2 separate regions of the Homo sapiens genome follow, and region 2 is linked to region 1. The links are contacts of gene promoters, found by promoter capture Hi-C in human tissues and cell types (Jung and others, 2019). All regions are on one chromosome and are shown on one strand. Each heading gives the region's core, a stretch centred on a gene start or on the middle of the fragment in contact. The rest is flanking DNA. Distances are from core to core; before and after follow the strand shown. Region 1 holds the start of CNOT7 (CCR4-NOT transcription complex subunit 7). Region 2 overlaps PSD3 (pleckstrin and Sec7 domain containing 3).

Region 1 (5,332 bases), core at 1,305-3,804:
TAATGTAATCATGTCCAATCATACGTTCATAATTTCTGGTTCAAAAAATAATACATAAAATGAATCCTTTCTGTATCCAACTCCGCGTATTTACTGATCCTCTTAAGCCAATTCCAGAACTCTTTACATTAACAATTGCTGCTATAGAATCTCACTTTATTTGGGAGGCCAAAATTATAAATTTCACATCAATTACTTCCCTTACTTACCAGCCTTAGCAGCAAGAGACTTTGTAGTATTTAAAAAATTAAACTCCAACCTCGAAGAAAAAAATTAGTCAGCATTGAAAATATTTAACATAATACTACATACTAAGGTTTAAAAGCAATTAATTCCAAAAGTGTGGTTCTAAAAAAGTGTTTCTGCAATAGCAGGACTGGTTTGGTATATAGTCTACCAAGGTAACAACTTCTAAGGGAACAAACATGTTAAAAACGAGTCCCCTTATTTTATAAGCATACCTTGTGAGAGTAGCTCTTAAAGGTCAGTACAGAACATGATTTGGAGTAAGAGTGACTTGTAAGAACTTTGCGAACTTAATTTTCCAGAATGAAAGCCACCAATAACAGCCTGCCATTCTTTTCTGTTAAACAGCATAAAATTTCACCTTTTGAAAGTTCTGAACAAACAGAACAATTGAGACAACGAACCAAGAAACACCTAAAGTTCAGTCAGCATCAGGCCTTATTTTAGCCAAACTGATTTTGCAGTAAATTTTTCTATTAACTAGACTATTTAATTAAAAATTATTCCATTTTAAATAAGAATTATTCGATATTATCTGAGGATACATATTTTTTAACTGTATGAAAATAATATTTTTAAAAGGGCTAGGAGCCCGGCGAGGTGGCTTATTCCTGTAATCCCAGCACTTTGGGAGGCCGAAGCGGGTGGATAATCTAAGGTCAGGAGTTCGAGACCAGCCTGACCAATGTGGTGAAACCCCGTCTCTACTAAAAATACAAAATATTAGCCGCGCATGGTGGCGCGCACCTGTAATCCCAGCTACTCGGAGGGGTGTGGGGAGCTGAGGGAGGATGATTGCTTGAATCCGGGAGACGGAGGTTGCAGTGAACCGAGATCGCGCCACTGCGCTCCAGCCTGGGCAACAGGAGAGCCGTACCCCCGGCAAAAAAAAAAAAAAAAAAAGGGGTTAGGGACTTAACAATGTTGTCATCTTTATTTAAAATAGTGTGAAACTGTTAAGTAAATATACTTGCAAAATGCATAAAATATAAAGAAGCAGTTCTAATTTTTGAAAACCATTAGAGACCATAGACATTTGCAATGTAAAAGGCTGCAGCAAACCAATTTACAGTAAAAGTTGAAATAATATGAATTGTAAAAATATTTCTAAACTGACCATGATAAAATGAAAAACTCACAGGAAGACAACAGAACAATCAAGATGAACATAAAGTAATTCTTGAGCGTGGGGACAAGACTATGAAAGAAGTGAGAAATGTACATGCACTGGTCGCTGTGAGATGGGGAGAGACTGCTCCAACAGGGTAAATCTTAGAGACTCAAGAAGACTGACTACGTGATAAGTGACTCTCAGACGAGAAGCATTCACTGATGAAAACTCTGGCTTCCCTTTCCTTTGATGTTGCAACAGTTCTATTTTCCATTCTTTGTGAAACCTGGAGATTACTCTTCACAATTGTATTTTAACAATTCTGCTGACGCGGCAATCAGGTGGGCAAAGGGAAAGATCAGTGGCGAAGCCTGGGCAGCAAGGGATACTGGAAATAGACTATGAGAGAGATTGAGAGATTACAGTCAGCAGCTATGTGTCAGGAGGGATGAGGAAATCCGAGTTAGAAGCGCTGAGCAGTGGTGCGGCAGGAGGCAGGGAGGGTCCGGAGGAAAACAGTAAAAGGGGGCAGGAGTGGCAGAGCAAGCGTGTGACCCACAACCAAGGGAGGTAAACCACATGAGGAGCTGGTGGGGAGCAGACTGAGGCGCTGTGAGGGTGGTTAGGACAAGCCCGCCCTCCCACCCTACTTTTTCCTCCGGTGGAGAGGCAGCGACCAGTCACCTGGAGTGTGAGTTCCGGAGGGACTCGATCAGGCGCTGCTTCTGCTGCTGGAGGCTGGTGAGGCCACCGGGGGACCCAGCCGCGGAGGAGGAGGCGCTCTTGGTCAGGGGAAAAAGCCAGCTCATCCTCCTCGGGTCCACGGGCCGGAGGCCCTGGAAGGCTCTGGCCTGCTTCTCCCAGTGGCTCGGCCCGGCGGTTCTCCAGCGACAGAGGAGCGGGGTGGGACGTCCGTGGCCCAAGCGCTGGGGACCGCGTCTTCTCTAAGCCTGTCCTGCCTGCGCTCCCCGAGTTCTGGGGGACATGCTACGAACGGCGGGCGGCTGGAGAGGGAAACTTGCGGCCCGGAACAGGAGGTCCCACCTTCACGGCCCAGACGCCCAAACCGGCCAGCCAGGGAGCCTGGCCGCCCAGCGCTCCACCACCCGCGCCGCCGTCACTTGCGTGCCCCGCCCCCGGGGGCGCTCTCCGCCCCCTCTGCGTGTCGCGTCATCATCTAGCGCCCCCGTCAGGACGTGCGAAAAGCGACGGCGCAGCACGGTGCGGCGCAGCTCCTGCTCGCCTTTCCCTTCGCTGGGCGAGAGGTGTCTATGGGGCACCCGCTGCCGCCGCCGCTACCGCCACCGCCACCGCCACCGCCGCCGAGTGCTGTCTCTATGGCGAGGAGGAGGAGGAGGAGCGCGAGCTCAGCGACACAAGTAGATCTTGCATCCGCTGCAGCCTTACGGGGGGAGGGGCGGGTTAGGGAAGTAGAAAGGGGGCGGGGACGATGAACCTGAGAGGGTGCGCGATGGCGCCAGCTGGAGTGCGGCTGGCGGAGGAAGGAGCCTGGCGGCGGGTTGGGGGCTGGGTAACTGGGGCTGGGGGTTTGTCAAGGGGTTGGCGCGTAGTGATGACGCAAAGGCTTTGTACCTGGGGCTTCGCAGTGGGACGGAAATTGGGAGTGGAGGGCGGTGGCCTAGATCCTCACCTCTTCGTATTGTTTCACGCGGCAGTGCTTGGGAGTCAGTGTAGCTCCAGTCAGTGTTATCAGCACCTTCGCACTGGCGCTTTGCCAGGGAAGAGAGTTATCTATGGCTTGAATACCTCGGTGCCGTCCTCTCGTTTCTCTGGGAAACTGCAGTACGGAGATGCTTTCTCCAGTAATGAGAAGGCCTTTGGTGTCTCTTCGGGGCTTCTGGGACTGCAGTAGAGAGAGAGGTGGAGGAAAACAATGTTAGACTACAGGGTCTTTCCAAGTCTTTGTGTTTTTGTGCTTATGTGTGTGTGTGTGCCTATCGGGGTGGGAGAGTTATAAAGGAGGGGTGTCCTGGATCTCCTTTAGTTTCTCTACTTGGAGAATTGGAAGTTACATTTGTGACTCTTCAGAGTTTAGAAGACAGTCATAAGACCCTCTTTTTACTCTTGTTTTTTTTTTTTCCAATTTGTATGAAAAATGCAGAAGGATTTGAAATTTCCCTGCCCAAGAATCAACAGGAACTCTGTTTATAGACCAGAAATGTGACATCTATCTTTGGTAACCATGCAATATGCTCTAAGTTTTAGACGTTCTATTGTGTTCTTTTTCCGTTCTGCAACTGCGAACATTCAGATAATTTTCATGGCCGTTACTTTTTTCTCAGAGCATTTACAAACATTTTTGACCCCTCTAGTCTAGTTAGAATAAACGCCGGTAAAGTAGATCTTGTTATCAAGTCGGATTTTGGTTGTTTTATTAATGAGGAATAAAAATAAACACCATCTTTGCCATGGTAACATCTGATCTTGTCACATGTAAATAAGTAATTTTTCATTTTTTGTCTGGAAATGGATGGCTTTATAAAGTTTTATGCAGAGTAGTTGAACTCAGATAAATAATTAGTGGAAAGTTATAAAATATGATTAGTATGTATGTGTAAAAAAGCTATTTTAAAATAACTGAAATTAGGACCAGGAAATCTGTACTGTAGTCCTTTTTTTCCTATAGACTAGCTGTGTGACCTTAAGTTACTTTCTAAACTTTGATTTTTTTTTTTTATGAGTCAAGAACTTTGAATAAATAACTTCTTAGGTTCCTGCTGGATCAATTATTCTGTGATTCAGATTTGATATATCTGGTCTTCATATTGTTTTTTTATTTTGACAGGTACATAAATAAAGGATAAAATATTTTATGAAACAAATCTTCAATCAAGTATAACATTTTGATGCTTGGCATCTAGACTCCCTTGTGCCCTCACTATGCCAGCGGCAACTGTAGATCATAGCCAAAGAATTTGTGAAGTTTGGGCTTGCAACTTGGATGAAGAGATGAAGAAAATTCGTCAAGTTATCCGAAAATATAATTACGTTGCTATGGTATGCCCACAAGCAGATCTTTAAAACGCTTCATATAAAGGAGGAAAAGGAAATTTTAAAGTCTTGAATTCAACCCTTTTGGTTGATATTTTTAGGGATTAATTTCACCATGAAAAGTAAAATTTGTCACTGCCCTCCAGCCAAAATCCATCAGGAATACACCTGTGATTTGACAGGTTGGGTTTATCCCTCATTGCAGTGAGGGAAAACGCACTGGAATTCATGGGAACCATGGGCCGTTTGAATAAGAGTTAGGAAGGATTTGGGCTCGTGTCAGGTGGTCTTAGGGGAAGGTAAGGGAAGCAGAGCTTTACTGTGGATTGGATGTGTTCGGGAAGCTGGGGTAATTCTGTGATTGGGTATCTTACTAAGTCTTAAATGAGAGACTAGAATGAGGTTAAAGCTGCAGAGAAGGAACAGTCATTCATTTAGCCAGGATGGAGATACTTGGTCATTTTGTGGTTTGACATTTTTATTTTTTTGTCCTTGTTCAGACATGATTACAGAGTGGCCTTATTTGAGGTTGAACTTTTGTGAAATTGTGTTCAACAGGAGAACATTAGGGCGTGGCTATGAGTGCCAGGTCTGCTCCTAGCAACACCAAAGCCTAGCTGGTAGTACCACATGAGCTCCCAGAAGCTAGGGTGCTCTTTCTCAAACAAAAAAATCAGATGTGCCAGTGAAACGTTGTTGGTCTGCAATTTGTTTTCATAATTAACACTGGAGTTCTGTGAATATACTGTGTTACTAAGCAACTCTGCTTTTGCACGTGCTGTTTGGTCTGCCTAGATTGTCTATCCAGTTAATGATTTTTCTTCTTTACCATTATACTGTCTATATCTGTTAGCTACCCTACTGTTTTCTACATCCACTGGATTATTATTAGCTCCATAAACCAAGTGTTTTAATCCTTTCTCTCCCAACACCTAGCATAACACATATAGTATTCAATAAAGT
Region 2 (5,332 bases), core at 1,530-4,029, 1.7 Mb before region 1:
GATCAAGTGCAGAGTGTGACTGTTGGAACCAAGTGTTAGTTTTGAGTGAGTCATGAAATATTATTTTATAGTCTTTAATTTAGTGTTTAATTTTTTCTTTATAATACTCACTGGCTGACTTGGAGGCTTTCAGATTCTCTGAAAATCATACTGAAGTTGAAATAATTAAGGAAATGAAGGAGCATGCCACCTTTCTCAAACTCTACTCTTAACCTTTTTCTCCCTCCTCACTCCTCTAGCCCCATCATTCCCTTCCCAAATCAACTGAAAACCACTTTTACTTCTAAAATTTGCCTGTAGCTTTCTGCTTCGTCTTTTTGATTTTTTTACAGCTAAACAATTAATTAAAAGAATCATTCTAGGCTGGGTGTGGCAGCTCACACCTGTTGTAATCCCAGCACTTTGGGAGGCCGAGGCGGGCGGATCACCTGAGGTCAGGAGTTTGAGACTAGCCTGGCCAGCATGGTGAAACCCTGTCTCTACTAAAAATACAAAAATTAGCCAGGCATGGTGATGCGTGCTTGTAATCCCAGCTACTCTGGAGGCTGAGGCAGGAGAATCACTTGAACCCGGGAGGCGGAGGTTGCAGTGAGCCAAGATTGTACCATTGCACTCCAGCCTGGGTGACAGAGTGAGAATCTGTCATCTCAAAAAAAAAAAAAAAAAAAAAAGTCATTCTACATCAGTAGTGCTTATCTTGTGTCTAAAATTGGTAATTATAATCGGTAATGTTGCGAGTTGGATAACGTGAATGTAATTCTTTGTAAATGTGAAAAGTCATATCAAATGTAAGGTTGAGATTTTGTTTGTCCCATCCATTTAATGGTGGGCTTGCATCTTTAAATACAGGGTGTGTTTTGGGGATCATGCCATTGTAATTTTATCACAAGGAAAAGATGTTACTGCTCCCGTAGTGAAGTGTCTGTGAAGCTGGTTCAGAAGTGTGAAGAATCATTGTGCTTCAGAATTCAAGGAGAGCTGAGAGATAAATTTGAGTAACACTTTTTATCAATAGGGAAGCTGAAGCCCAAACTTGAAGCATTTGTGTGAGACTGCGTGGTACTATCGAGCCGAGATTTAAGTCTGATCACCTGACCATCAGTCCAGCTGCTAATGTTTCATGTTCCATACTTCTTAAGGAGATTTATGTTCGTAAAAACAACTGTGATGAAGCAAAAGAATATATTTTATTCAGTTAGTAATGCCAAAGGAAATAGTAGTCTGAATTCTGTGGGTCTGTCATTAATCTGATTGTTTTAACAATACAGTTTTCAAAGACCTGCATTAATTATTGGAGAGATCAGTAAAAATTTATAAGCCTTGCTATGGGAAGAGGATGTATCAATAGGGGCTCACAGCTTCAAGAATAACTAATTGTTTGGTAAGAATAACCCCCCAGTGCAGGTGGAGCTGAGAAACCAAAGGAGAAGGCAGACAGGTCCAGACTGTTGTTATAGGGTGTTTTATTGGGGAACTGACAGACAGAAGCGTGGTTTTTGGCAACTGCAAGACGGATAGATCTCCATGCCATTATACCCCAGACCCAGGGATTATATCTAGGGAAGGGGCACACATGCTTCGGAGGGAATAGGTAGGAATTTGATGTAAGGGCAGGATTTACTGTAAGTATGTGCCATTACTCAAGAAACAGTAGATAAATTGGAAATCTCAGAGGCATTCCCAGAACTGGGGTTAATCAGAAGTCAACATGGCATGTTAGTTTCCAAGATAGAGTTACTTTAGCCTCCACACAAATGCAAGCAGAATGAATTTTATATTATTTAGCAAGGTGGAGTATGTTAATGGAGCACTTTATTAAGCAGAGCCCTTTAGTGAATTTTACTTCTAGGTCGAGCAGTCCCTTTTAAAAAATGTTTCACTTTTGTGATAGTCTGAGCGTACTTTGAACACGGCTTCATTCGGAAGCTTTAGCGCCTTCAAGCCTTGCTCCTCAAAGCTGGTCTGTGGATCATGGTCACCAGGGAACTTTTAGGAATGCGGAGTCCCAGGCCCCACCTTAACCTGCTCAGTTTCTGTTTTAAGAAGATTCCAGGTGATTCGTATATACAACAGAGTACGAAGACCATTGGTCGAGAGCAGTGGTTCACAAAGAAGATGGCTCCTGTACCAGCAACATCAGCATCACCTGAAAAATTGTTAGAAAATGCAGATTCGCAGGCCCCACAGACCTACGGCATCAGAAACTCTGGGATGGACCCCAGCAGTACGTGTTTTACTTGGTGCTGTAGGTAATGCTAATTCATGATAAATTTTGAGAACCACTCTAGGGTAGTATGTTTCCAACAGTTTAGGTCATGAGCAACCTTGAGAAATACACTTTTAATCATGACTCAGCACACACACTCACATGCACGTGTGACTTAGACGTTCCATGAAACAATGCTTATCTTACAGTGTGTTTTCTGCTCTGGTATTTTTACTTATATTCTATTAAATAGATATGTGTGTATAAACTTATTGATATAAAAATGTGGTCATGATCCACTAAAGTGATTTTACAAGCCACTAATGGGTCATAAGTTGCAATTTGAGAAACAATAGTCTTGAGCAGGCTCCTCTTGATAGTCTGATAAAATTCTAGATCTTTTGTCAGAATAGTGCATTTTAAATGCATACAATAATGTAGATAGAGTTGCAAAAGAAACCAATTTGATTGGCTACCAAAATATTACATTTGTGGTATGATAATATATGTATCCCAACTTCTCAGGAGGCTTAGGCAAGAGGATTGCTTGAGGTCAAGAGTTTGAGTCCAGTCAGAGCAACATATCTAGATCCCATCTCTAAAAAAAAAAAAAAAGCTATGTTTCTTTATTGATAACAAGATTTAATGGTGAGTCTAGTAACTATTATCATTTCAAACTAGGGACGAGTATACATATTTCCAAATATCTGTAGTAACTGTTAGATGATATGAAAATGATGAATTTCTATTGATGACAAGTTATGGTTATTGCTACCAATACTCTGGTTTGTTGCTTACATTTGTATTTGAAAACATGCTAAATTTCATCTAAAGGTAAATGCAAATAAATATGTAAATCACCCCCTCCCCAGCTTCATGAACTTCCAGAATTCTCTTGATTGGCAATTGCTTCCCCACGGACCTGAGGTTAAGAATCCTTGCTCAAGGGGAACCTTGCTTTAGAGAACAGTTCTCGGCCTTAAAGTTGAGATTCTAAGCAAAAATTTATCTTCTTGGAATTTCTTGAAACTTTTGCTGTATAGATGGCATCTTTTCTTATTTTCTAGCACCCCTGTAATGGATTCCTTTTTAAAAATGTTCTTTCTGATGTTTTAGTGAGTCCTTGGGGCATCACTTGGAAGCCCCAGTGTAGGCTCTTGATACTGTTTCTTCTCTAGTCTCCCCATTCTCAATACATGCACCTGGTTGTTCAAGCCAGATTCCTGGGAGTCATCCGCAATGCCACGAGTTCTAGATTTGGACTGCTCGGGTGTGAATCTAGGATCTATATATCTTTGGAAAAGTTATTTAGCCTCTCATTGCCTTCTTTTTTCCACCTATAAGATGGGGATGACAGTAGCCCCCACCTCATAGGATTGTTCTGAGCATTAAATGAGATATTCCATGTATTACATTAGAACAGTGCCTGGCACAGAGTAAGTGGTTAGTATCTATTCTAATTAACCTTAATCTCCCCTTTCCCTCTTTTTTTTTTTTTTTTTTGTTTGAGACGGATTTTCGCTTTTGTCGCCTAGGCTGGAGTGCAATAGCGCCATCGCGGTTCACTGCAACCTCCACGTCCCAGGTTCAAGCGATTCTCCTGCCTTAGCTTCCTGAGTAGCTGGGATCACAGGTGCATGGCTCCACGCCTGGCCAATTTTTGTATTTTTTAGTAGAGACGGGGTTTTGCCATGTTGGCCAGGCTGGTCTCGAACTCCTGACCTCAAGTGGTGCGCCCACCCCAGCCTCCCAGAGTGCTAAGATTAAAGGCATGAGCCACTGTGCCTGGCCCCTTTCCCTCATTCTTTAAATCCAGTTTATCAGAAAACTGTGTAATTCTTCCTACAAAATATATTTTAATTCATCCACTTTTGCCTATTCCTCCAAACTTCCCTGTTCTCGTTTGGATTTCTAGCTGATATCTCTGCTGCTTCTTGTCTCACTCCAATTCATTTTCCATATAACACCCATATGATCTTTTAAAAGTGTAAATGAATAATCTTTTAAAATGCAAATGAATCACTGTATCCCATAAAACGCTTCAGTGGCTTCCCATCAAACCCATCAAAATGCTCCGTCCTTTCCTTGAGCTACACTCTTCATCCTGCAAATCTCTAAACTTGCCCACTCACTTGCTCTTCTGTGGCCACTTTGGCTTTCTCTTAGTTATCTGAGTAGCCTCATCCATCCTTCCATTCCTTAAGGCCATGCGTATGGCCTTCCCGCCAATATGTCGCTGACCTTCCCCAGCCTGTCATATTTCTCATCTCTGCAGGCGTTAGTTTCTCAGAGAGCTTTCCCTAACCACCTGCCCAAATTAGGGCACCTTACGTGGCAGCCCCTTGGCCGAGTTCCTCTTTTACTAGCCTGAAGCTCCCCAAACACTTCAAAAAATTAATATTTCCTCTCTATTGGGGAAAAGGATAATTAACAACCTGTGATTATCAAACACGTAACACCAAGAGGAGTATGCACCTTTTTTCAGACCGATACATTTGACGCGTTATGAACATTAAGTGATTGTGGAGCTCTTTTAAGAAATTGCTGTCTGAATGTTGTGCACGCTAGCTCTTGGTATTAAAGAACAAAGTGGGGTCTGCCCCCTGAACCTGTCTCCAGTGGGGTGATGGAGGTGTGATTGGGTCTTCCTAGTATTGTCAGTCATTTCTACTCCAAAGCATAGAATAGAAATACTAACATTTCCCTCTTTGAAATAGTTACTTCGTTGCTGTTAAAACCCTTCACGCTTCTCTCCCCCAAAGTGAATGGTCAGTCACTGTTCAGACATGAGAAAAGATGATGTCTCATAACCAGTGGGTAGAAACCAGTACCGGTGATATCTGTATCCTGGTTAATGTTTAGGTTCATAGTAAAGAGGCAAAAGAAGGCGTCCCTGACTGTGCTAGGTCAAATTTCTTTGTGTCTTGAAATTTTTTTCCTTGCTACTTGTTTTTAATTAGTCCTCAGCCGGAGAACAGAGACACTCCTGATTTTTGACAGTTGCCTAAAACAGCGAGGAAGGAGGTCTTAGGAGTTCAGAGTTAGGATGTACCACTTTCACCATCACCTTTGTAGTTCTTGTTTCAAATAAGGGAATTTAGGAGTTACACAGGACCCTGGGACAGA

What was found. Contacts are between HindIII fragments. The study calls those that stand out against the background at their distance.
Region 2: a contact is called between a fragment that was not itself captured here and the fragment with the promoter of CNOT7 in region 1, in 1 of the 25 tissues and cell types used here (aorta).

Annotation. Positions count from the first base shown.
Region 1 is chr8:17,244,079-17,249,410 of GRCh38, reverse strand. It overlaps CNOT7 (CCR4-NOT transcription complex subunit 7), which reads left to right and starts at 2,554. Exons shown (of 7, transcript NM_013354.7): 1 at 2,554-2,736; 2 at 4,164-4,375. The coding sequence starts at 4,259. It overlaps VPS37A (VPS37A subunit of ESCRT-I), which reads right to left and starts at 2,453. Exons shown (of 12, transcript NM_152415.3): 1 at 2,042-2,453. The coding sequence starts at 2,166. RefSeq lists an enhancer at 1,957-2,805. The HindIII fragment of the contact is 14,692 bases long and covers 1-5,332 here.
Region 2 is chr8:18,937,005-18,942,336 of GRCh38, reverse strand. All of the region lies in intron 1 of PSD3 (pleckstrin and Sec7 domain containing 3), which reads left to right. Among named protein-coding and RNA genes, the nearest start is that of PSD3, 74 kb to the left of the region's middle. RefSeq lists an enhancer at 1,566-2,765. The HindIII fragment of the contact is 5,306 bases long and covers 127-5,332 here.